Linked DNA regions of Homo sapiens: regions 1, 2, 3, 5, 6 and 7 are each linked to region 4. The links are contacts of gene promoters, found by promoter capture Hi-C in blood cells and fetal thymus (Javierre and others, 2016). All regions are on one chromosome and are shown on one strand. Each heading gives the region's core, a stretch centred on a gene start or on the middle of the fragment in contact. The rest is flanking DNA. Distances are from core to core; before and after follow the strand shown. Region 1 holds the start of MIR4680 (microRNA 4680). Region 2 overlaps ADD3 (adducin 3). Region 3 overlaps MXI1 (MAX interactor 1, dimerization protein). Region 4 holds the start of SMC3 (structural maintenance of chromosomes 3). Region 5 overlaps SHOC2 (SHOC2 leucine rich repeat scaffold protein). Region 6 overlaps ADD3 (adducin 3). Region 7 holds the start of LOC105378480 (a long non-coding RNA gene).

What was found. Contacts are between HindIII fragments. The CHiCAGO score rates a contact against its expected background, and 5 or more counts as called.
Region 1: a fragment that was not itself captured here is called in contact with the fragment with the promoter of SMC3 in region 4 in 1 of 17 cell types (naive CD4 T cells); the score reaches 7.2 in naive CD4 T cells.
Region 2: a fragment that was not itself captured here is called in contact with the fragment with the promoter of SMC3 in region 4 in 8 of 17 cell types (total CD4 T cells, total B cells, naive CD4 T cells and 5 more); the score reaches 11.1 in total CD4 T cells.
Region 3: a fragment that was not itself captured here is called in contact with the fragment with the promoter of SMC3 in region 4 in 2 of 17 cell types (naive CD4 T cells and neutrophils); the score reaches 6.2 in naive CD4 T cells.
Region 5: a fragment that was not itself captured here is called in contact with the fragment with the promoter of SMC3 in region 4 in 5 of 17 cell types (activated CD4 T cells, total CD4 T cells, naive CD8 T cells and 2 more); the score reaches 6.5 in activated CD4 T cells.
Region 6: a fragment that was not itself captured here is called in contact with the fragment with the promoter of SMC3 in region 4 in 3 of 17 cell types (total CD4 T cells, total B cells and non-activated CD4 T cells); the score reaches 5.5 in total CD4 T cells.
Region 7: a contact is called between a fragment that was not itself captured here and the fragment with the promoter of SMC3 in region 4, in 14 of 17 cell types (fetal thymus, naive CD4 T cells, total CD4 T cells and 11 more). The highest score is 19.2, in fetal thymus.

The regions. Positions count from the first base shown.
Region 1 is chr10:110,896,827-110,900,521 of GRCh38, reverse strand. It overlaps PDCD4 (programmed cell death 4), which reads right to left. Exons shown (of 12, transcript NM_014456.5): 12 at 516-2,494. The coding sequence ends at 2,434. It overlaps BBIP1 (BBSome interacting protein 1), which reads left to right. Exons shown (of 4, transcript NM_001195305.3): 4 at 1-1,792. The coding sequence ends at 162. It overlaps MIR4680 (microRNA 4680), which reads right to left and starts at 2,432; the gene lies at 2,367-2,432. The HindIII fragment of the contact is 385 bases long and covers 1,058-1,442 here.
Region 2 is chr10:110,119,047-110,122,633 of GRCh38, reverse strand. It overlaps ADD3 (adducin 3), which reads right to left. Exons shown (of 15, transcript NM_016824.5): 7 at 3,280-3,423; 8 at 3,070-3,168; 9 at 342-524. Among named protein-coding and RNA genes, the nearest start is that of MXI1, 87 kb to the left of the region's middle. The HindIII fragment of the contact is 2,697 bases long and covers 959-3,587 here.
Region 3 is chr10:110,241,855-110,245,296 of GRCh38, reverse strand. MXI1 (MAX interactor 1, dimerization protein) reads right to left here. Exons shown (of 6, transcript NM_130439.3): 3 at 440-469. Among named protein-coding and RNA genes, the nearest start is that of MXI1, 36 kb to the right of the region's middle. The HindIII fragment of the contact is 2,836 bases long and covers 270-3,105 here.
Region 4 is chr10:110,566,379-110,569,886 of GRCh38, reverse strand. It overlaps SMC3 (structural maintenance of chromosomes 3), which reads right to left and starts at 2,192. Exons shown (of 29, transcript NM_005445.4): 1 at 2,056-2,192; 2 at 874-949. The coding sequence starts at 2,070. It overlaps LOC105378483 (a long non-coding RNA gene), which reads left to right and starts at 2,579. Exons shown (of 2, transcript XR_946318.2): 1 at 2,579-2,854. RefSeq lists a silencer at 1,583-1,872 and enhancers at 2,213-2,312, 2,323-2,372, 3,187-3,508. The HindIII fragment of the contact is 2,181 bases long and covers 209-2,389 here.
Region 5 is chr10:110,991,327-110,994,971 of GRCh38, reverse strand. The region is part of intron 3 of SHOC2 (SHOC2 leucine rich repeat scaffold protein); the gene reads right to left. Among named protein-coding and RNA genes, the nearest start is that of MIR548E, 4.2 kb to the right of the region's middle. The HindIII fragment of the contact is 826 bases long and covers 1,740-2,565 here.
Region 6 is chr10:110,094,216-110,097,797 of GRCh38, reverse strand. All of the region lies in intron 1 of ADD3 (adducin 3), which reads right to left. Among named protein-coding and RNA genes, the nearest start is that of ADD3-AS1, 88 kb to the right of the region's middle. The HindIII fragment of the contact is 1,318 bases long and covers 1,312-2,629 here.
Region 7 is chr10:110,220,821-110,224,288 of GRCh38, reverse strand. The region is part of intron 1 of MXI1 (MAX interactor 1, dimerization protein); the gene reads right to left. LOC105378480 (a long non-coding RNA gene) reads left to right here and starts at 2,362. Exons shown (of 2, transcript XR_946315.4): 1 at 2,362-2,432; 2 at 2,755-3,468. The HindIII fragment of the contact is 1,513 bases long and covers 1,433-2,945 here.

The DNA of each region.
Region 1 (3,695 bases), core at 1-2,500, 330 kb before region 4:
CTGTTTGTGGAAGATATAATGACAATGGTGCTGTGTAAACCCAAACTTTTACCCTTAAAATCTCTGACTCTGGAAAAACTAGAGAAAATGCATCAAGCAGCACAGAATACAATTCGCCAACAAGAAATGGCAGAAAAGGATCAACGGCAAATAACCCACTGAATGATAACTGAGCACTTTAGGGAACAACCTGCCTTATCTACTATTTAACAATAACTAGAAAATATGCTTCTGTGTGCTGAAAGTAGTATGTGTTATCAATAAAATTGATAGTATTCATAGAAATACAAAAATATCCAAGATTGATGAAATTTGTATTGTGAATGTAAACACTCTGGTTTGTATTGAACATAAACAGTTAAACTATGAACCAAGTTTTATGGGGTTTAAGTCATGTTTTTAGAATTGCAAATTAAATTATTTGTTCACCATTCCTATTGCTATCTTTTATAGATAACATTCTTGGGATCTTTTATAGCATTCTTGGGCACAAGGGATTAAATACAACTTTTATATACAGAGGATCTTTACATGTTTATTAAATCTGAATTTGAAGATACATTCCAATCTTGCATAAAGTGTTTGTTGGGCTTTTACATTACGTAATTAAAAAACAAAATTTTTTAACCAATTTTATGTGCCATGTCACGTTTAATGCTATCTTGTGTGACCAGATCCCACCAGTAATGACAAAACTGTCTTAAACCTCATTTTTTTTTTTTTTTGAGACAAGAGTTTCACTCTTGTTGCCCAAACGAGAGCAATGGCACCATCTCGACTCACTGCAACCTCTGCCTCCCAGGTTCAAGCAATTCTCCTGCCTCAGCCTCCCAAGTAGCTGGGATTACACGCATGCGCCACCATGCCTGGCTACTTTTGTATTTTTAATAGAGACAGGGTTTCTTCATGTTGGTCAAGCTGGTCATGAACTCCCAACCTCAAGTGATCCGCCCACCTCGGCCTCCCAAAGTGCTGGGATTACAGGCATGAGCCACCGTGCCCAGCCCTTAAATCTCATTTTTAAGAAACCCTCACCTATTCTGTAGTCAGCTAAGCTTTTAATTACATTAATTTTAAGCACTTGAGAATAAAATGACTGCATTTATCATCCAAGTGTCAAACAATTAAAAACCTAAAAATGGTAACTATATATAAGCTGAGGTAATATGGGCTTGATAAAGCCCATGAGGTAAATATGAACACTAAACTTGGTTTTAATTCTAACAGACTATATCTAAACCTGTAAGCAGTATACTCCTAACAGTACCCTCATAAATTCTGAATATAATTCTTGTTTGCTGCAGTCAATATTTGGCAGTTTAAATTAGCACAGACGTTGAGGCCTTGCTGAGTTATTAGGCTATGTAAAAGAGGTTAAAAATATGATCATTCTTTATTGTTAATTGGTAATATTTTCTCATACATTAGGTAAATGTCAAGCTTTGGGTCTCTGGAGTATAACTTTTTGTAACATTAGCCATTATTTGGTAACAGAATTTAAGGATGATGGAATGATGGAAGGTATTACATATTTCTAAAACTTAATTAAGCTCTAGGTCAGATAACAATGGAGTAAAGTGATACCTGCATTTTTTTCCCCAGTGTAATCTTAATTTACTATTGTATTTTTCACTTAAAATTTTGTAGGGAAAAAAAGTTTTCAAGGGAACACTAAGATTAAATTGACTAGGTTCAAATATGCTTCCTTATGAGATTCAAAATTTACTGTGTGAAATTAAAGTTTAAGAGACCTAAAAAAATGTACTCCCAATAAAGAATCAATACTGCTTCACATGTTTTATTTTGGTGTACATTCTTCTAGAACCAGGTTCATTTTTCCAGTTTTGTAGAAAAATAGATGTTCCAGCCACCTTTTACTTAACTGTCTAGTCTTTTAAGACCAATCAGTATGTTCCCTGGAAAGATGAATAAGTCTCATGACTAATTTTTTAAAAATTCTTTAAGACAAAGAAATAACTTTCTTTTTTTACTCCCAAAGCACAGTATCTCAACAGCAGCAGCCAACATGGGGTTTTAGCAGCTTAACTTTACCCCCTAAATAAAGCTTTGTATAAACCAGTGATTTTACTACAAAAAACACTGTCCTTGAAAGAAAGGAGTGGCAGTCAGACATCAATGCAAAACTTGGAATGATTAGATAATAAACATGGCACTTACAAAAGGTAGCTTATTAGAATATTCCACTTAAGAAGAGGTTACTTTTCTGTCCCTCCTTGCCCCCTCGAAAAACAAAAAAAAAAGAAAAAACATTTCCTTTAAAAATTCCCCTTAAATGTAGGTTTATAAAATGTCAGAAATGCCTTGTACCCAAAACAAGTGCTTAAAAAAAAAAAAAAAAAAAACTTGTGCTAACAACTCTTACAATTCAGATATATATTTTTATAACATCTAAGACTGCAAGAGTTCTTATATTCAGTAGCTCTCTGGTTTAAGACGACCTCCATCTCCTTCGCTTACAAAACGCTTTCTGCCCCTGTAATGAAGAAAAAAAAAGACATGAAAACAGATACAAATTCTGACTATAGTCAATATATAAAAAAATTAAAAACTTGGTATTTTTTCGTTACGTGTTAGCTTTTAAAGGGTTTTCCATTAAAAAAAAAAAGCATGCCTCTAATTCCTTTGGAAAAGACTCCCTACTATATATCTTAGCATAAAACATCAATATCAAATCTGAGTTTTTGTTTTAATAAGTTCACTATCCAAACAGAGTCACATTAAAAAAAGTTGACTCAAACTAAAACATTTTATTTAGAAATTTAAAATTATTTCTAATTAATTTCTAATTATTATTTGTAAGCTTAACAGTAAGCCAAATAGGAAACACTAACATAATTCAGAATTATGCAAACTGGAGCTGTGCAACCTATCAAAATATCCATGTTTGGCAATTTAAAAAAAAATGTTTTATCAACTGTAGAAAAGCCATAACTTGAATGTGGAAAAAAATCAGAATTACAGCCTATGCCCCATTTTGGGATTCGTGCTTTGTCAAACTCAAGAAGCCCTGCTCTATAATGTAACCACACTCTTACCTACATGTAGTGGCAATAGCCCAGAAGGAACAGCTGGCCAGTGGCCTAAAGCAGTAAGTGGGAAATAGAACTTAGGCAACATTAGCCCTTACTCTCTGACCCCAGGCCAATAGGCACAAGCATGCAAAACCACACACAAATGTGCACCTTACCCAAATAGGCTAAAAGATGAAGGACCCAAGTCAAAGCTGTATGGTATGTATACACAGAAAGTTTATTGCCTCATGTGACCCTTGAGAATAAAGCCACACAGAAACAATCAGACTTTCAAACAGAGGCTGAAAAACTTTCAAAAAGCCAATGCCAGGGTACTGGCCCCTTTTCATATTAAGTCTAAGTGGAAAACAGCTACATCATCTTGAACATAAAGGCTTCAGACTGTATGAGACCAAGGTAGGGAATGAAAAAGCAGTCAATAATAAGAAGGCCAAAGTTCAGAGTTTTTACTGATGTATATCACTTGGCACATCCATACATAAATCCTGCCATCACCAAGCTAACGTCTGTATTTCCAAACATTTCTAGTAAAGCTATTAAACTATCTTTCATCACTTTCTTTTCCCTCTCTTTTAATGGCTTCTAAAATTCTAAAGCAAAGGCCCCTACCAGGAAATATTTTTCTGACTTTTAATTCTTACA
Region 2 (3,587 bases), core at 1,058-3,557, 450 kb after region 4:
TGAACTCATAAAAGTAGAGTAGAATAGTGGTTACAAGGAGGTGGGGGTGGGGAGATGTTGATCAAAGGATACAAAATTTCAGTTAGGAGGAAAAAGTTCAAGAGATATATTGTACTATGGTGACTACAGTTAATAACAATATATTGTAATCTTAAAAAAAAAACACGACATTTGTAAGTTCTGTTTAATTCTCAAAGGTGTGGTTAAATAACAATGAAATGCTTTCCTAGGGCCAAACTCAGCTTCTGGAAGAGTATGGAGCATGTTCTACAAAAATGGAAGCATCTGCTCTTGAATCTGAAGACATTAAATCCAAGTTTTACTTCAATTTTGCAACCTACCAAGTTGTCCAGAGTCCTCATAAGCCCTTCAAACTCAATTTCGCCAACCTTCCATTTTTGATGGGAACCCATATTCACACCTCCTCCACCAGACGCTGCTACAGTGTAAGTGAAAGCTTTATACTTCTGAAAGTCCAGTACATGGAGATTGTCTACTCCACCTGCACCTGCTAGGGCCTGCACCTGTAATCAATGGTAAAATATACAGAGACACAAAACTATAAAGACTGTAATGAGTATTTTACTTTCAAAAAGGCACAATTTCAATTTGGCAAATATCTATAATACTTGCTCAGGCTACTAACAACAAAGACAAGATGACACTCTTGTGCCAGCAGACAGCTGAAGTATCTTTTCCACCTATCTGAAAAAGAAACCTTCCAAGACTCTGATCCTCCCTGATGGAAAACACATTAGAGCCATACCTCTTAACATATTTTAAGCCACGGAATTCTGCTGCCAAATTTTAAATTTCTTTTCTTGAAGTTTTCCCAGGGTTATCCAGTTAATACTTTTGCTAAAAGCTATAATTTTAAGGAAATACAAAAACACTGTACTTTGAATTTAAAGATATTTAGGCAGAAGCCATCAGCTCATTATCTTAATTTAATTAAGCTTTTCATAGCCCCATTTGAGAAGAGGAGGAACCATTAAAGCAAAAATAAGTTGATTGTTAGGACAAGTTAATGTTGGTAGAAAAAGTTTTTTTTTAGTTGTTCTTTTCCCCCTTTCTTGTGGCCCTTCCAATAAATTAAGATTATTACCATTTGCTTCATGAGAATTTGCTTTATTTATTTATTTATTTATTGAGGACTGAGTTTCACTCTTGTTGCCCAGGCTGGAGTGCAATGGCACGATATCGGCTCACTGCAAACTTCGCCTCCCGGGTTCAAGCGATTCTCCCGCCTCAGCCTCCCAAGTAGCTGGGATTACAGGCACATGACACCACGCCCTGTTAATTTTGTATTTTTAGTACAGACGGGGTTTCTCCATGTTGGTCAGGCTGGTCTCGAACTCCTGACCTCAGGTGATCTACCCAGCTCAGCCTCCCAAAGTGCTGGGATTACAGGCATGAGCTACCGTGCCTGGCCAAATCTGCTTGATTTAAAGAGAAAATTAGGGCCTTTAGTTTAATTAGATCCCATTTGTCAATTTTGTCTTTTGTTGCCATTGCTTTTGGTGTTTTGGACATGAAGTCCTTGCCCATGCCTATGTCCTGAATGGTAATGCCTAGGTTTTCTTCTAAGGTTTTTATGGTTTTAGGTCTAACGTTTAAATCTTTAATCCATCTTGAATTGATTTTTGTATAAGGTGTAAGGAAGGGATCCAGTTTCAGCTTTCTACATATGGCTAGCCAGTTTTCCCAGCACCATTTATTAAATAGGGAATCCTTTCCCCATTGCTTGTTTTTCTCAGGTTTGTCAAAGATCAGCTAGTCGTAGGTATGTGGCGTTATTTCTGAGGGCTCCGTTCTGTTCCATTTATCTATATCTCTGTTTTGATACCAGTACCATGCTGTTTTGGTTACTGTAGCCTTGTAGTATAGTTTGAAGTCAGGTAGTGTGATGCCTCCAGCTTTGTTCTTTTGGCTTAGGATTGACTTGGCGATGCGGGCTCTCTAGTTCAACCATTGTGGAAGTCAGTGTGGCGATTCCTCAGGGATCTTGAACTAGAAATACCATTTGACCCAGCCATTCCATTACTGGGTATATACCCAAAGGACTATAAATCATGCTGCTATAAAGACACATGCACACGTATGTTTATTGCGGCATTATTCACAATAGCAAAGACTTGGAACCAACCAAATGTCCAACAATGATAGACTGGATTAAGAAAATGTGGCACATATACACCATAGAATACTATGCAGCCATAAAAAATGATGAGTTCATGTCCTTTGTAGGGACATGGATGAAATTGGAAATCATCATTCTCAGTAAACTATCACAAGAACAAAAAACCAAACACCGCATATTCTCACTCATAGGTGGGAATTGAACAATGAGATCACATGGACACAGGAAGGGGAATATCACACTCTGGGGACTGTGGTGGGGTGGGGGGAGGGGGGAGGGATAGCATTGGGAGATATACCTAATGCTAGATGACGAGTTGGTGGGTGCAGCGCACCAGCATGGCACATGTATACATATGTAACTAACCTGCACAATGTGCACATGTACCCTAAAACTTAAAGTATAATTAAAAAAAAAAGAAAAAGAAAAAGAAAATTAGGGCCTTTAAATACATTCAACATCTCTGATGAAAAAAATGATTAATAAATATCCAACCTCTCATCATAATGAGGCTGTGGAATTGTTGAAAACTGCAATTTCATATAACTTCTGGACCTAGTCAAACTTTTTACAAAAGTGACCACAACACATTTGATTCTTGATTTGCAGCTGTTTTTCTTCCTTAATTAGTACCACCACTACAGGGTGAAAACAGAAATATGCAATTGTACTAACTTAAAAAGCAGGATTGTAGGGAAAATGATGTTTATGAGGCCCTTAGATTGTGTGTGAGAAAATTTTAATTTCCTTTACTCCTATTTTCAATTCAAGAGATAACTGAGTTGAAAACCCTGCCTACATAAGTAGAGCAGAACTTCTCTTAAAAGACAAAAAGCCACTAACTAATATGTATTTGCAAATAAGTACACAAAATCCAACTAAACGAGCAAATAACAAAGCAATTAAAAAAGGGGAATAATGTTTCCTACCTGAATCTCACAGGCTAGTTGCACATTAAAAATATAATGAAAAGCCTCCTCTAATGTTTCTCCAAGTGCAACCACACCATGATTCCTGAGTACCAGCACCTAAAATAGAATGCCCACAGCAATCACTTGAAATAACTGGCATAGCTCACACTGTTTTCATCAACAGCAGCAGCAACAAAAATAGCTCCTTAGACAAACTCTACTACATACCTTACAACTTGGTCCCAGAACCTTCTGCAGTTGAATTCTCTCCTCCTGTTCTTCAAGTGACCCTTGGTAGTCATAATAGGCAACATCTCCCAGAAGAAGAGACTCTTGAGAAATTGGAAGGATCCCACATTTCATGGAGGATACCTATTTGGTTTGGCCCATACCAAGATAACACATTTGGTTACTAAATACATTTTCATAGGAACCTGATTGTTTGGTCAGCTCAGGAAAACACTGGCCTATTCACTGTGTTTCACCATTGCAGCCCACTTCCCACTTTATTCACTTCCCATTTTGTTTCTTCCACA
Region 3 (3,442 bases), core at 438-2,937, 320 kb after region 4:
TACAGCTCATGTTTGATAAATAGTTGTTGAATGCATGAATAAATGAATGAATGAATGAACAAATTACAAAGGAAGAAAAATTCAATGCCCTCCAATTTGTAATGCTTATTACCTACTCTTTAGAAATCCTACCCTTTAGCAAAACTACATTTAAACCATGAGCTTGTAACAATTAACTCATTTTCAGAGACAGAAATAAAGGCTATACCTAAAACTCAAATTCGAGTAAGCTTTAAAAATGTATTTATGTCTTCTAGCTGCTATAAGCTTACTATTAAATCATTTTTTGGAGAAAATACATATATATCAGATTCACAATGGGCTATACATCTGAAAAATAAAATTACAACTACATATGCACTATTACATTATTTTCACAGGTAAAATGGTGAGTTTGCTTTTAAACGTAAGTGAAAGCTGTACCTCATCACTGACTCACCGATTCTTTTCCAGCTCATTGTGTGTAGATCTAAAAGACAAAAAAAAAAAAAAGCATTAGCCATGCTTTGTTGCTAAAGCTATAGAAAGACAGATTAGTTACTGCTATGCTACACCTAGTGAATTTATTTAACAATGCAACACATGGTCAGACTTCTACAAGCTCACTCATCGAGAGGAAATAGTCTACATTCATTAGGATTGTTTATACAAATATAGTATTTTCAGTTAACAACTCTTAACAGTCTGAAACTGGAGTTTCATTGTTATTTTAATAAAAGTAATACTAGCACATGTTCTCCCTACTTCTAGCATCCTAGATTTTGTTGATCTGCAGATGTTATATAAGAAATTTTAAACATAATCCTGTTTTTATTTAAAAAGGAAAAAAAAAAGTGGGTGTACTTCCATGTCCTCCTCTATCTCCATCTACCCACTTCTAAACAGAGAAAAAAAAGTTTTGGCTAGCATAGAAGCTGAAAAAGGCTTGCGTTACTGCTTAGTGATACAGGCAAATCCAAGTCTTCCCACCTTATTTTGTGAAACAAAAACAAGAAAAAGTTATACATGAAAGAAAATTAATATAAAGAAAAAATATATTAATAAAATCAAGAAACGTGTTTTACAAGACTGGATAACTCGAAATGTTAGCAATGGTTATTGTTTAGTTTTGGTGACTTTTTTCCTTTTGTTTCTCATTATTTGTTTTAAATGATACCTTCTATTGAACAAGCACAGCATCTGGGGAACAGTGGGATAAGCAGTTAATATATCTTATTTTATCCCTAAAACAACCTTTGTTTTATAATCAAGAATACTGAAGCTCAGAGAAGTCAAGAAATATACTCCTCTCCCAAGAGTATAAAGTGGCAGCCATGATTTCAATCCAGGTCTATCTTAACAATCCCCAAATCTTAACCACTCAGTGAGAAGCAATACTGAACAGAGGTTAAGGGCACAGACTCTAAGGCCAAACTGCCTGAGTCCAAATACTGTATGGCCTCAGTAAAGTCCCTTCATTTCTCTGTGCTCGGTTTCCTCATCTATGAAATAGGAAAAATAACAGTATTTGCCTCATATGATTGTTATAAGGACTAACAGGTTTATGCTAAATAGCAAAATATAATGAACTCTAAAGTTAGCTACTATTAGAATTGTTATACTAGTTCCCTAGAATTAACATGTGTTACTTTTGCAATAACTTAACATTAACAACAACAGGAATTTTATGAAGGAGAATTTAAATTCCTGTCACTAGAACTAAAACTTTAATCATTTTGTAGATTCTGGTTAATGTCAAATGCTTAAAGAATATTTATGGCTTTAATCTGATTATTTCAATGGATATTTAATAATCAGATTCTCAAACCTTAAAATTAAGAGTGCTTTTGCTGGTCTCATAATTTGTGTAACTTTTACCCACTGTCTTAGCTTAAGGGCCAAAAGACTTCTTTGAGTTACTGTCTCCTATCCACCTTTTGCTTCATGAGTAATTTCATCAAGTCCAAGAGACATGAAATGAAAAAGACTGATATTCATTTAAAAATATTATCTTAACAAAAGGACTTCTCCTTTGAGGGAAGTAAATAGAGTCTTATGATGTTTCAAGAATTCAGATAGAAGAAACTATAAAAGCACAGTCAGAAATCCTAGTTTAACAGAGACTCGGAGCTCAAAATTCAATAAATTATAACCACAGTGTGCCTTTATCACCATAAAAGTGTTTAAAATTTTGTTAATCTTTGTTTGAATTAAATGTTAATCAGTCAAGTTAGAAGAGGGAAAAGGCCTATTTAAAGACGTTTAGAAGAAAAAATATAATTCAAAATTTGAATAAATAATCAATAGTAAGATTCCCCACCCCCACTGGTGAGCAAGTTTTGGTTTAATTGCCTCTCTCTGAGAAGAAAACTAAAAACAAAACAAAAAGACAATGCACATATAAAATACTACAGTAAGTAATAAATGGAAACATTGTATTTAGAGAAGAGCAGACTATTTGCCATAAACTTATTCTAAACAGCCATAAACTTATTCTAAACAGTCTGGCAATCCCACTGACAGCCATCAGTGCAAGAGATAATATACTCAACAATAACCAATTGTTGAATTCCAATATTATATTGAGTCTATTATCAAAGCTAGCTCCAAAAGATCATAATCTGACCCACTGCTGTGAACAAAATTAAAACAGCAGGTTCTTCCTGCCTGCCAAACAGACATTTCTTTATTATCTTTTTTTAAAGAAAATGATAGCTAAGATTATGAACCTTTTCACCAAACCAGGAAATGCATGCCACATTTAATTATACCACCAGCAAAATTTAGCAAGATTTTCAAATAACGAGAAGCAAAAATGATCATAAATATACAAATCATTACCATGTTGCCATGTTCTTCCAATTTTTTTTACAAAAGCATCAATAGTGTTTACTCCTATTTTGATGGGTTTTTACCTGTAATGTCAAGTCAACAAATACTGAGTACCTTCAGTGTTCAAGGCTGTCTTACACTACAGGAAATCAAAGACAGTCTCCATTGGGTAAATTAAGATATGTTTAGCAATAATTATAACTGAAGGCAAAATAAATATACAAAGAAAGGTACAAAGTATTGTGGGAGCTCAAAAGAGACAGTTTACTTCCAAATGGCACTGTAAGAAAAGCTTTAGAAGGGTGGCATTTGGTCTAAGGCTTAAATAATAGGTACATTTGCTACTAGTAGAGTCTGAAACTGTTAAGGAGATGCCATTCCAAGTGGAAGGGATAAGATAAGCAAACAAGTCGAGTTGTGAAGTCCAAAGCAAAACCAGCAAACAACACAAAAAGATCATAAAGACCCATGGTGTTAGAGAAAGAAAGTCATGAATCTAAATATTAACTCTGTCACTCACACAGGCTGTGTAACTTTGAGACAAATTATTTAACCTCGCTGGTTTACAGTTTCCTCATCTGTAAAACTGGAGTATTACACATGCCTTGGCCAGGTTACTGTGAGAATTAGA
Region 4 (3,508 bases), core at 943-3,442:
ACTCAGCAGAGTGTCAGAAAACATTTTTGTTAGCTGTATCAGCAAAATGCACACTACAATCTGAGCAATCTATAATGACTACATATTGTTAATGGCAATCACCATTAGCTCTTTATCTTCACACTTACATAAGGTTTCTCATTTAATCTTCTCAACAGCCCTATGAGACAGGTATCATCTCCACTTTACAAATGAGAAAACTGAAGCTTCTCAGAAAGTGAAAAAGAACGTGTGCCACAACTGGGATTTTTTTTTTCGTTGTTGTTATACTAGGATACATGTGCACAACATGCAGGTTTGTTACATAGGTATACATGTGCCATGTTGGTTTGCTGCACCCATCAACTCGACATTTACATTAGGTATTTCTCCTAATGCTATCCCTCCCCCAGGCCCCCACCCCCCTATAACTGGGATTTGAACCCCATTCTGTTATGCTCCAAAGTTTATGCTCTTCCAATCTAGCTACATGGTCTGTCCTTAGAGACACTGACTGCCGGGGTGGGGGGGGAATCCTGGCATCTACTTTGTGAATAAAAATTGTCTGTCTCTGAAATAAGGCAACAGTCAGCATTTTCACTAGGATATATAACAAGAACAGAAGAGCGGAAATGCTTTAAAACACTCTTACACACACATACAAGGCTACCTAGATAAAAAATGGATAACTTATGAGTGTCTTATCCAAACATTTTAAGTTTATAAAAATAAGCAATTCATCAGTGCAATAAGACAGAAAAGTTATTTCACGCAGAAAAATATAACTTAATATTCAAAGACAATTCCTGTCTCCTTAAGCCAATATAGAAATGGACAGAATTTACATTATCTGTATAGACTATAAATATGACCGAGTAAACCAAGAACACTTACCAATCACATTATGTTTTGAACTGAAGGGATCTACAATTGTTTGATCTCTGTAACTTCGAAAACCCTGGATAATCACCTAGTAAATAAAAAACATTTTTGAGAACCCACCCCACAAAAAAAATTAACATTTTTCTCTTGCATTTCTTTCTTGTTTTTCATTTAATGCAATATAGAAAACTCGAAATTTCATATAAGAAAAATTCATTTTGGAAAGTGGTGATTAAAAATCTGCTAAAAAAAAAAAAAGGTACTTTTATCGGTAATCTTTGCCAAGGCAATGCTGCTGGGTTTTATTTTTTTTTAGGAGTTATGCTGTCAACCTGTTAAGGACCTTTCAAAATCAAAAACACTGTGTGAGCTTAACTGAACCCTAAACGCTGCAGTACAATAGCAAGTCTATAAAAGCAGGCCGACGGGCCCCAGCTCTCCTGACTCCAAGACCACCGAGTGCTGCTTTCAGTCACTCACGCCGGCCAGCCTGAAAGAACCCACGTTCCAAAGAAGGAGTGCTCAGAGCCCGACAGACCCAACAGAAAACCGTCTCCAAGGCCGTGTGCCTGGGCTCATCTTTGTGGTGGAGTCCCGCGCGGGAAGACCATTTTGACAGAAGTAAACAACCGAGGGAGGCGGCGCTCCGTATCCTGCAAGCAGGAGGGTCCCGCTCACTTCGCGGGTTAACTGGGGAGAAGAACGGCTCCCCGCAGTGACAGGTGACGACACCCCAGCCAATGCCCCCAGGGCCGCCCCCGGGCCGGGGAAGCCACCTTTCCACACATCCCAGGCACATGGGCCGTGTGAGGCCACCCCTGCAGGACCACACAGCCCTTCCCGCCCGCGGCCGCCCCGGCGGGGTGCCCCCCGCCAGCTCTGGGGCCACCCAGGAAGGCCCAGTCCCTCCCAGCGGCCCGCCCGCCGGCCCTTCCACACCTCTCGGAGATCCTGCCTCTCCCAGACAAGCGCCAGCAGGGAGGCCGGGGCTGCAAAGGAGTGCCCCAATTCTCCGCGACCCCGCAGCCGGGGCACTAGCGGGACCCGGGTCTCCCTCCTCCCCCACAGTCCCCGCCCAGCCCTGGTCCAGCCTGTGGAGACAGGGGAGAGGCTGCGGGTGGCGCCGCAACACTCCCGCCTCAAGGAGCGGCCCTTACCGGCCCATGACGGGGTGGAGGGACGCGAAGGCCTTACCTGCTTTATGTACATGATTCCGGGCCCCTGGCCTGGAAGGAGACCTGCCCCGGAGCAGCAACCGCACGGCCGCAGGGTCAGGTGAGGCGCCTACGCGACCCCTCCCCCAAAGCGCCGCTCGCTCCCCTCAGCCAAACAAAATGGCGGCGCTCGTGGGGGCGGAGTCCGCGCCTCGGACGGAACCACCTTGCAGCCTTCACAGGGCGTAGGAGGAGTCAAGTTCAGGTCTGCTCTTTCTTTTAGGCAAAACCAGTCCTCCACAGCGTTTTTTGGTGGATTTCTTTTGAATCTAGAATTCTGTAGCTAACGCTTTCCTGAGACTTAGTCAAAAGCTTCACTCGGAAAATCTATGACCGTAGGGTTGGTCCGTACCACCTCCGAGCGCGGGGCCAATGGTCGCGTCCACAAAGGGGGAAAGGTTCCGCGCCAAAGCCAAGAGGGAGACTCCGAGGGCCAGTAGCGCCGCGGGCTGTCGGCCACGTGATTCCGCGCTGTTTAAAAAAGCGGACCTCGCGCGCACTGTGCTAGCCTTGGAACACATGGAATGCTGGTGATTCTTGGAATTCTGTGTGCGGAGTCACTGCTGCCCCTTTGTTATCGCTCTCCATAGGAACGTTTACAATCTTAGCACGCCCCAAGCTGGTTACGAATTGCCCACTCGGAGGACAACCCCGAAGGGATTTGTCAATGCTCGAAAATTTGTTTTAATAATGTGATGATTAATTCCGTCGGGAACTGTTTCTGTTCTACCATCTGCTATAAATCTAGGCAGATCTGTACAATTGCAACAAAGATTTAGGTAAGGCTGAAAGCTTTTAATCCACTTTAAAAACAAAAGAAAACAGCCTGAAAGATACTAGGTGCTAGTGGCAACCCTAGGTCTGTCTGATCCTTGTCAGTCTTGGGAGAAAAACATCATTTGTTTAGAAAATGAATCTCTGGGCTGCTCTGAAATTACTTGCTGGGAAGAGAACAAAATAACTACCCAAATCATCCCCAGCCCCACCCCCGCCCGCTGCTGGAGACAATTCTGGCCCTAATTATTTCTAGATTGAACTATTTTTAGTAGCCTCCTAACTGCCTCTGCTAACCAGGGTATCTCCCTAGGAGTCCTTTATCTGGAGCCCGGATCAAATCCTATCCAGCCCTTGGTTTAAAAAAATAAATAGGCCTGGTCGAGTGGCTCAAGCGTGTAATCCCAGCACTTTGGGAGGCTGAGGGGGGAGGATCACCTGAGGTCACGAGTTCAAGACCAGCCTGGCCAGCATGGCGAAACCCCCGTCTCTACTCGAAATACAAAAATTAGCTGGGCGTCGTGGCGGGTGCCTGTAATCCCAGTTAGTCGGGAGGCTGGGGCAGGAGAATTGCTTGAATCCAGGAGGCAGAGGTTGCAGTGAGCCAAGATCGCGCCACTGCACTCCAGCCTGGGCAACAGAGCGAGACTGTCTCAAAA
Region 5 (3,645 bases), core at 903-3,402, 430 kb before region 4:
CATCTGGTCTATCTGAATACAAATTAATCATTCTACAAATATTTGCAGGAATTTTTCTGGGATACCCAACTTCTGAGCAGTCCATGCTTAGGTATCAGCCGGGAAGGAACTACTAACAATTCCAACTTTCTGCATTCCTCCCACCCCACCACATCACTTTTAGTTATAAAATATATAAATGTATCTTCCTATTTTCCTTAGATAACCATGGTTTATAGTCTGATACATACCTATTGAGACCTGTCTCTAAACACTTATTTATATGTATAAAAATACAGGGATTTCTTATGTTTATGTGTTTGCTTTCATATAAATGAGATCATTCTATATGCTTCTCCCCTCCCCCATATAACAGATGATAGAAATATTTTTATGCTGAGTAAACACAGATATACCTCATTCTATTTAACCATTGTAAAGTGTTTCATGTCATGTGTACCATTATCTCTCCAATCATTGCTCAACTGATGGCATTTAATTTTTTAAAAAAGAATTATGTAATGAATACCCCTAGACATGTATCTTTGTGCACATGTGAAAATATTTATGTGTCAGATGATATAGATATTTAAAATTTTAATAAATAACAAAAGGCTATATCATTTTTATTTCCACTAAGAGTGAAGAATAGCCCCCATTTACTCACATCCTTGTAAAATGGGGAGGGATGGTATCAACATTTTATCCCTTGCCTATTCCATTCCTATGGCCACTGCTACAGCAAGGCCAGCAGAAGTGAACATTTTCCTCCAAGTAGTGATCATGTCTGATTACAAAGAACTTCAAAACCTTCTGATAAAATTTTAATTTCCTGTATGCAGCTGCAGATAAAATGAGGCAGCTAACCTTTAAAAAAAAAAATGGAAGTAAACAAGACCATCCCTTTTTCTCCTTTACATCACTGCTTTCCCTATGGAAGAAAGTTGATCCATTGTAACAAAATGGCTGAATCTTTCACCAAGGGGTCTTTGAAGTCTGCCATAAGAGGGGAGAATTTATTAACAGAGAGAAGTCTCCATGATCTTACTCCATCAACTGACATGCCTCATTCAATAACCCTTTACAGTATCATGGTAGATAAATACAATATTTTAAATGTTTTTTATTCTCACTGAAAACTAAAAAACTTTCTGTGGTAACAAAGGTTAGTAGGGGAACCAAATTCTAAATGTTTGTCAACTCAAAAGCCTAGTAAATAGAACCAGATTCTTGAAATTTCTCATCCAAAACCAAATAACTCTTAAGTTTCTCACTTTTAAAACCAGAGTAGGTTCCTAGAATTTAAAAATTACAAAATAAAAATAATGTAGCCAAATTGCTACATGACATTATCTAGTACCAAAACCAGTAGTAATTTAAATTAAAAGGTACCTCCACCTTTCTTGGATCTAAATTTTTTGCTTTTTGCTGGGGCGGAAGGGGTTGAATTTCTAACAATGTAATCTATGAGAATAGGCTGTTCTGATGAAGAAATCTCACATTTGCAAAGGCCCTATCACTTGAGACCACTGGCAAATTCAAAGAGTCATCCACATTTTGCCAAAGTCCATTACTCTCAGCTAAATAAAAAAGGTTAAAAAAATTAAGGATGAAATATCAAAACTCTTTTACGCCAGAAGAAAACATCAGAAGTCTGGCATTTATTGTGATTCACCCTCTGCAGTGGTTTCAGCTCTAACCCCTCTCAATGAGTGGTTTTAACCACAAACTAAACTGCAACCTAGAAATCAACACAAGCTTGCTTTAATGTTGAGCCATCTTGACTAAGAAATAAAATCATTGTTGCTGAGCTCCTGTATATAAACGTAGGCTGATCACTGCCAATCACTGGCATTTAGCTTTCAAGTGCTTAACTTTGTCTACAAATTGTTCTGTGCTCCACTTTGACAGCTTGCTTTCTCTTACGCTGTCAGATTTTTAAAATATGGTGAAATCAAATGGCTATGAATTAAAATTAGATTCTTTCAATTTCAGCAAATATAACCAGCAACTTTAGTTTAATTTAGTATAACTTTCGAGTAAGACTAATTTAAATGATCATAATCTTATTTTAACAAAGTAGCAAAAAAAATAGTAGGAAAGACTCAGGGTTGGAAGGATGAAATGTCAAAGGTACCATTATTTTTTCAGAAACATTAAACTGAAAGCAAACTGAAAAGTAAGCAACACAGAAATTCCTGAATGTTAAAAACCCAAAGAACACCACCATTAAAAAGAAAACTAGTAAAGTTGTTATACATACGCTGCACTGTAATTACCTAAAACCCAATTACTAAAATGACTAAAATGCTACTTGTTGATATAACCATAATTAATGTAACATTTCTTCAGAGCCCAGTGCAACAAAAAGGCTTCTGTGAATTGTTCTGCACTCCAGCCTTGAAGGCAAGGTTTTGTGGCACAGTTCTCTCCTAATCTCATTTTGAGAAGAAATACAAAGTAAAGTATTTTTTCCTACTTCGGACTGTTTCTTCCCTGGATTACATAAAACTACCAGAGGTACCAGAAGGCTTTAAAAAACATCAGGTTCATACTTTAAAACAAAATAACTGTTGGAATAAAGCTTAATATTTTCTTCTGTTCATAGCTAATTTCTGAATGAGAAAATATTCATATAAAATAATACTTTTTTTATTCAACAAGGCAGACTAACAGTTAAATCAGAGAAACTATAAATATGTATTTAAGCACTCTCTTACTTAACTGCAACTTGGTAATCCCCAACCCATTTCCTTCTGTCTCTTCCTCACATCCTATGAGTTGTCAGCGATACTAGCTTCTCAGCCTGGAAGTAAATGGCAGTAATTATCACAGGGGAGTGATAGTTACTCCAGGAATGTTCATGTTAAATAAAGAAAAAAGTAAAAAACATTCTGGTCTACTTATAAGAAAAAAGAAAAAAAGGAAAAGGCAAGTAAATACAGTGATTTCTGGGAAGTGATTTTAAGACAATACAAGATTTGATTTTCAGTTACAAGTTTAGGGCAAGATTCTTTAGTCCAAGGAAAAGAGAGTGGGCAGCTGCTTCCAGACTAGCATCAACTCTGCAGAACAGGTGTTGGGCTTTCTGTTTGTTTTTCATTTTAAGTTATACTTTCTCAGAACTAGAGTAGGATTTAAAAAAGGAGAAGTATCAGGAGAACCATAATTCAATTAAGTTTCCACTACTTAGGGTAAATTCTTCATCTTCAATAAATGAGAGTGAAAATCTCAAAGGTCAATTAAAACTGTTGAAATTTTTAACAGACCAAGACCCAAACGTCAAAGTTTCCCACCAAACCTCAATCTTCTGCTACATCATCAAAATACTAGGACTGGAAAGGATGGAGAAAGATAAAGTAATTATTTTAATAAACATGGTAATCGATAAATGACTACAATATCATAAAAAGTTTCAATAAATATTACTAATTTACTTTGCCATTTACTCAGAGTAACAGCTGTACTATACTTGGTGACAACCATCAAAGCATATAAAAGTAAATGCAATGTTATTTAAAATTTTCTTGTTGTTAATGTTTCAGTTCTCATTGATTTCCAATTTGTAATACTGTAATCTGGCCCTATAGAATAAGCTAGAGGTGAGGCATATGTGTTATTCTAGGATAACATCTAAACTACAAGAGATTAATAATAAAATCAAAT
Region 6 (3,582 bases), core at 721-3,220, 470 kb after region 4:
ATCTCAAAAAAAAAAAAAAAGAAAAACAAAGACTAAGGAACTGTAAGGAACTGTTCCAGATTAAAGAAGACAAAGGAGACTAAGACGTGACAATTAAATGCAACATGTAATCTTGGATCAGATCCTAGACCAGGAAAAGGACATCAGTGAGACAATTGGTGAAATTTAAATAGAATCTGTAAATTTGATAATAGTATTTACATCAATGTTAATTTCCTGAAACTGATAATTACAACATGGTTATGGAAGATATTATCATTTAGGGAATCTGGGTAAAGGACAAACAGGAATTCTTTCACTATTTTTGCCAACTCTTTTGTAAGTCTGAAATAATTTCAAAACAAAGCACAAAAAATCCAAAATATATACATAAACATTAATCCAATATAAGACAAATCCAATCTCAACACAGTCAAAGGAAAATATTAATACCACAATTTTCAGGGCCCTCCTGAATTTTATAGTATACCATGTTCTTTCCTCACCAAAGAATTTTTAAAAGTTTGCTCACAGGTAAGATAGGATACAAAACACACTTACAAAAAGAAAACCCCCAAACAATACCTGAGCTATTAAACAAAAACAGTCATACATATGAAAGCTATATTCCCAATCCACTTAGATTAATATAAGAACCCTCAAAACTCAAAGTAACAGAGGTAGTAACATTGTATAACTGTTAATATACTTAAACAGTATCTGACATATGCTCATACCATGTATTTTGTAAAGCTGTTCATTATCAAATTAACCCAAAGTGTTCACAGACTGAGAAAAATACCCCTATGTTCAATTCTGAGCTCACCAGCACTGCTAGTGCCATTCTTGCCTATCTTACAATCTGGGTTGCTTGTATTCAGGTCCACTTGTAGAGCCCTTTCCACCTGAGTTACCTGTTAGATGCCTCTAGATGAGCTGGACTCCTGATTTGGGCTCTGTGGTACATCGTTTTTCAAAGACGGCCTCAAGAATTCTTCCATGCTTCCCTGCGATCTACTTTTTCCACTAAGAAGTAGAGACTATTTTCCTATCCCTTAAATCTGGTTTGGACTTGTGATTTGCTTTGACTAAAACAATGTGGCTGAAGTGACATTATACACTTTGAGGGTCGTGCAGCTGCCACACCATGAAGAAGCCCATAATGAAAAATGAGGAGAAAGAGGCCCAGCTGTCCCCAGTAAGCCAGGTTCCCAGCAGACCCCCCCCAGCTAACTATCGCAACATGAATGAGTCCAGGTAAAAGCAGGTAAGGTGCTACTCAGTCAACATACAGAATCATGAGAAATAATAAATTGTTAAACACACAAAGCTTTGTTTTTGTTGTTGTTTCTGTTTTTCACACAGCAACAGATAACTAAAGTGAAAACTGGTGTTACTGGTGCTGTAATAACAAAAACTGAAAACCTGGCATTAGCTCTGGGGCCTAGGCAGTGGGGAGGCTATTAGTGGAGGCTGACAAGGCAGTGAGGAGACTGCTACTGGAGACTGGAGAGAGGGTTATGTTGCATAATGAGAGCACAAACTAACAAGAATGTGTTAACTTGAAAACTAGAAAACATGCTTAACGAATGTGGAGCTCACTAAGATTTCTAGGTAGAATGCTGAAAGAGCCAACTGAGTATTGTTTTTTTCCAAAAAAATATTTTTATATAATAATCTATAATAAATAACACAGACATCCCTTATGCCCTTTTCCCCAGTTTCTCCCAATGGCAACACATTGCAAAACTATATTACAGTATCACAACCAGCACACTGACAGTAATATAGTCAAGAAGGAGATTATTTCCATCACCAGAAGTACTCCGCATGCTGCCCTTTAATAGCAATGCCCATTTCCACTCCCTCCTTAATCAGCAGCAACCACTAATCCATTCTCTATTGCTATAATTGTCATTTAAAGAATATTATACAAATGAAAATATGCAACATATAAAACCTTTGGGGATTGGCTTTTTTCACTCAATCATTTACTGAACATTTGTGGAGGCTGTCATATCAATAATTTGTTCCTTTTTACTGTTGAATGCTATTCTATGGTATGGCTGTATCATTATTTGTTTAATCATTTGTCTACTCAAAGACAACTGGTTATTTCTCGTCTTTGACTATTATAAAATTATAGCATATTTTTTCATTAACAGGAAAAAGTAGAAACAACCCAAACATCTATCAACTGACAAACACAAAGTATAGTATTTTGTCATATGGTAATCCAGAAAGTGGAATATTACATGGCAATAAAAGGAAATGGAATACTGATATGTGCTTCAGCATGGATGAACCTTGAAAACATTGTAAGTGAAAGAAGCTAGTCACCAAGGACCACATATTGTATGACTCCATTTATATGAAATGTTTAGAAAAGACAAATCTATAGAGGTAGAAAACAGATTAATGGCTGCCAGGCACTATGGGAAAATGAGGAGTGGCCGCCAATGAGATTTATTTTTGGAGTGATGAACATGTTCTAAAATTATTGTGGTGATAGTTGTACAACTCTGTGACTATATTAAAAACCACTGAATTGTATACTTTATATGGCCAAATGGCATGGTATGTGAATTATCTCCATAAAACTGTTATTTTAAAAATCCAACCTGAGAAGCTACTGACCACCTTGCAAGCTTGGGAATGGGGACTCTCTTGTAGTCCTCACAATGGGCGAGAACTCCATAAATGGGGGCTGAATTAAGTTACTTTACTATATCACAACTCCTTCCAAATAAATCTGGTTTGCATTATTTATAGGCTGGGAATAGTAAAAACAATCTTTTGAAAAGAAGTTATTACTTACAAAAAAATCTTTCCAAACTTAAAATTCTTGGCAGTTTGAATAGCTTTCTTTAGAATAAGCAAAGAGATGGCTGTACTTTCAACTACCAGACCTATTTTTCCACACTTCAAAGAATAATCAAAGATATGCCAAGACCGCAAAGCAGCATATTTGGTTAAAAAACAAAACAACAAATGCTATTTCAGTTTTTCTTGATGAAAGTTACTATGAAATTTTAAAGTTATTTGAAGTTCTAGAAAACAACTTAGACCCTACACAAACTATGACAAGCTACTATCCTTAGATCACTAGTGAAATTTTCTTCATTTTAAGTTCTAAAAGACATGAGCTGCTTTTAAATGCTAGCCAAAATTTTATATACAACTGACATGGAAATTGACAGATCTGAAAACTTGAAGCAGAAATAGATAAAAATGAAGAAAAATGGGAGAAAAAACCCAAATGAACCTGGCATTGAGCAGCACTGAGTAATACAGATGGCACTAAGTGCACAAATGGAGAAAAACTTAATTATCCCACAAAGCACTAGGCTCTTATTCCTAAAAGGCTATTGATTTTATATGAGCTTCTCTTGAAATATTTCAGACTAGATTCAATGATCACTTTTTACAGATGAGAGGAAACTATACTCAGTGGTGTTGAGTGACTTTTCTAAAGTTACATTGCTCAAATATCATATTATAAAATCATAATAATGATGTTTATTAGCATTACCATGTCATCCAGATTGCCCCATAATCAAAATTTACTCCTTCAATGAAATATAAGAAAGAAAACAGACCCAT
Region 7 (3,468 bases), core at 940-3,439, 350 kb after region 4:
AGGAACAAGCTGGGAACCGTGCAAACATACCCATAACTTTTTTCCACCCCAATTATATTAACCTGCTGCTTGACATCACATCCAAAATAACAGGAAGCTCCTGGTGAGGGGGGAGTTTCCCCCTCCCGTGGTCATTCCATTGGCTCCTGCAGAAAATACCATCTTGAGATGGAAATCTTACCCTCTTAAAAATGTTATCGGCTTCATGCTGCATTTTAATATACCTTTCCCTCATACCTTTTGTTTTCTTACCTTTCCCTCATACCTTTTGTTTTCTTTTTTCTTTTCTTTTTTTTTGGTAAAGTGAACAAAATCTCCAGTGAGGTCACAAGCTGCAAAATTCTGCCAGTCCTTTTAAATATTACACTTGGCACCACATTTAAGACCAAATAGACGTTCCATCAAATGCAAGCAGACCCAAAATGAGAGGTGTTCGCAAGCCACAGAAGAACTTTTTTTTTTTTTTGTAAAGGCTTTCAAAAAGGGACTGTTCTTTTAGCTCTTGACTAGGTCGTTTTGGATCTGGACTTTCCCAGGTCATTTTGGATCTGGACTTTCCCACTGGGTGTTGGTAACAACCTCCCTTCACCCTCAACAAGGGCCATGTTGGGTAGGGGTGGGACTGGATTATTTTAAAGAAAATACCATTCATTTAGAACATCTGTTAGTTGAGGGTAGAATTTATTTATTTTTTATTTATTTATTTATTTATTTTTTGAGACGGAGTCTTACTCTGTCACCCCAGCTGGAGTGCAGTGGCGCGATCTCGGCTCATTGCAACCTCCACCTCCCGGGTTCTCCTGACACAGCCTCCCAAGTAGCTGGGGTTACAGGCGCCTGCCACCACGCCCAGCTAATTTTTTGATTTTCGTAGAGACAGGGTTTCACCATGTTGGCCACACTGGTCTCAAACTCCTGACCTCGTGACTCGCCCACCTCAGCCTCCCAAAGTGTCCCTGGCCAGGACAAATACAACTCTACTTTTCTCAATAGGAGGTAAACTTGTGTGACAAGCAATCAAGAAAAGTAGTACAAACTGAAAATATACATGAATTCAAGATGGCTTTAATTCCAGAGGTCACAGAACCATAGCTGGTTAGGAAGAGATGGCTACATGCAAGAGGCCTGGGGCCTATGCATGGCCTTTCACAGTTGACCTCCAGGTGAACTAACCTAGAGCCCTTCTTCTAGAGCCATGGCCAAGAGGGAGATGAGGACATGGAAAGTAGAGCGAGACTCACCAAAAGGCCACCTGCATTGAAGAAGGGGAGAGATGATGATCATGGTGGGCAGTATTAAGGGCTGGTTCATGTACAGAAATCTCCAGCCTTTTCTAAAAGCAATTGAAGTGCCACTTCCTTCTCCCTGCGCTGGCTGCCTCCTGGAGTCCTTCCTTGGACATCAGCTATAAGGGCCTCTCCAGCACAAAGCTTAGGGCTCTATCCACAGGAAAGTAATGCTACCCACAAACCATCCCTCAGCAACAGTCTCAGCCCGGAGGAACCCAGAGGCAGCCATAGCCTTTCTTTTGTTCCGATGAACTAGTTTGCACTACAAATGCAGATGGGGAAACAGGAAAAGCAAGGCTTCCAAAGTCTACTGACATAAGAACCTGGAATCCTACCCATAGTCTCTGTTCTGTCCTCTCCCTAAAGTATATCTCTCTCTCAAGGGAGTCATTTGAAAATGGAGAAAGTCCCCCAGAATACCCCAGGCCTATAACGATCACAGCCACGGATGGGGACAATCTGCCTTCTGAAGGAAGCAGGCAAAGCCCTCAATTCTTAAGGGTCCTTTCTCAGCACAGTTTACTTAGTGACAATTTCCAAGTGATTTATTGCAGATTCATAAACAATGGAGGCTGATGTGTTGTATCTTTTCTTCAGGGAGGCGAGATGGGGAGAGAGGAAGGGGCCATGAGGTTAAGTTACAAGTCCAAAGTTACTGTGTTGATGACACCTTGCACTTAGGAGAACTTCCCTGAAACTGCAAAGTGTTTACTGAGTAGGGCACTGTTTTCTGCAATTATCTTTAAGGATGGGCGTTTTCAAATAATCAACACTGGGGACACGGGAGGTGAACTCTAAGCTCTTAAATGAGAACCGTTAACAGTTATACATTTTTCCATCTCCCATCCCAAAATGACTACTGCAGCCTCCTCCCCTCCTCTTCCCCCAGAGCCCAGAAACGTGAAGAACAGCAGAAAACCTTTCCCTCGCCCAGTGAGTCAGCCTTGCCTAAGTTCATGCGTAAGCTCTCCTCAAGTCAGCGGCAGCTCAGAGCTGCGGGTCTGTGTGCAGCCGAGATAAATTTGGGTCTAGAAGGGATGACGTAATGCTAAACCCGAGAGGTAGCTGCCGCCTCCCAGGGCTCCTGTCGCCAGGGCTGCCGGCTGACATCCCAACCACACGGAAACGCACCAAGCGACTCAGGTGCTGCCCGAGCTGGGGAGAAAGGGAAAGGACATGGGGTGGGGGGAACGCCAGGGGGAGGCAGTGTTTATCTGAGACGGCTGAATCTGGAAGTTTGTTGCTTTTTAACTCCAGTTTTACTGGTGAGATCAGACCACTGGCAAATGCTCAAACAGCTGCACTTGACTTCCATCCTGACCCATCTCTTCCCTCTTAGAAAAGGGCTTCTTACATTTTATTAAATGGCCCTTATTACAGCAGCCTATTTCAGTGATTATAATGGATGTGTTAATCTCTCAAATGTCCTTTTCCTTCTTTTTTGCATGAACTTGGATCCAAGAAGACATCTGCATTGCAGGACTCAATTAACATGCACATCTAAGCGGCTTGCTTACTTTGGAGCACCCCACTTGGGGTGACACCAGGGTGCTACTGATAAGGTATTTGGGAGGATTTTGCTAGGGCCATGCCAAGTGAATATTTCCCCAAATAACATTTCAAGGTTTATGTCATAGAAGTTTGTGTCATTAAGCTTGTTTCTCAATACAGTCCCCATTTTTCACTTGAGAAAGCTGAGGCTCAGAGAGGTATGGTAACTTGCCCAAGGCCAACAGCTGTCTATCAAACTGATGGAATAAGGGTTAGAACTCAGGCTTTTTTAAACCCGTGGGGCCCATTCCTTTAAATATCAAGACGAAGTTGCATTCCCAAAGGATCCAAATGCTGTTTTTTTCTGTTTATGGTTCATTCTTCCCCAAGGAAAGGTTGCCATCAGAGTCAACTCCTTCACTCCTGGTGATGACCGCAAACCTTGGGCCCAACCTCACCCTTCCACTATAATTAAAAGACCACCACAGGAAACAATCTTTGTTGTGCCGAAGTAGTTTTCTTCATTAGAAATGCCTCCCAAATACTTTTCAACATTTGTTAGTGTAAACACATTTTATTCTTTAATTTGTGCCTGTAATCATTTATGCTGGTAGATTTTGTGACTTTCAGCAATATCTGGCAAATAACCTGGTCAGCCACGGTGTGTTATTGTTTTGAAGCACTGTTC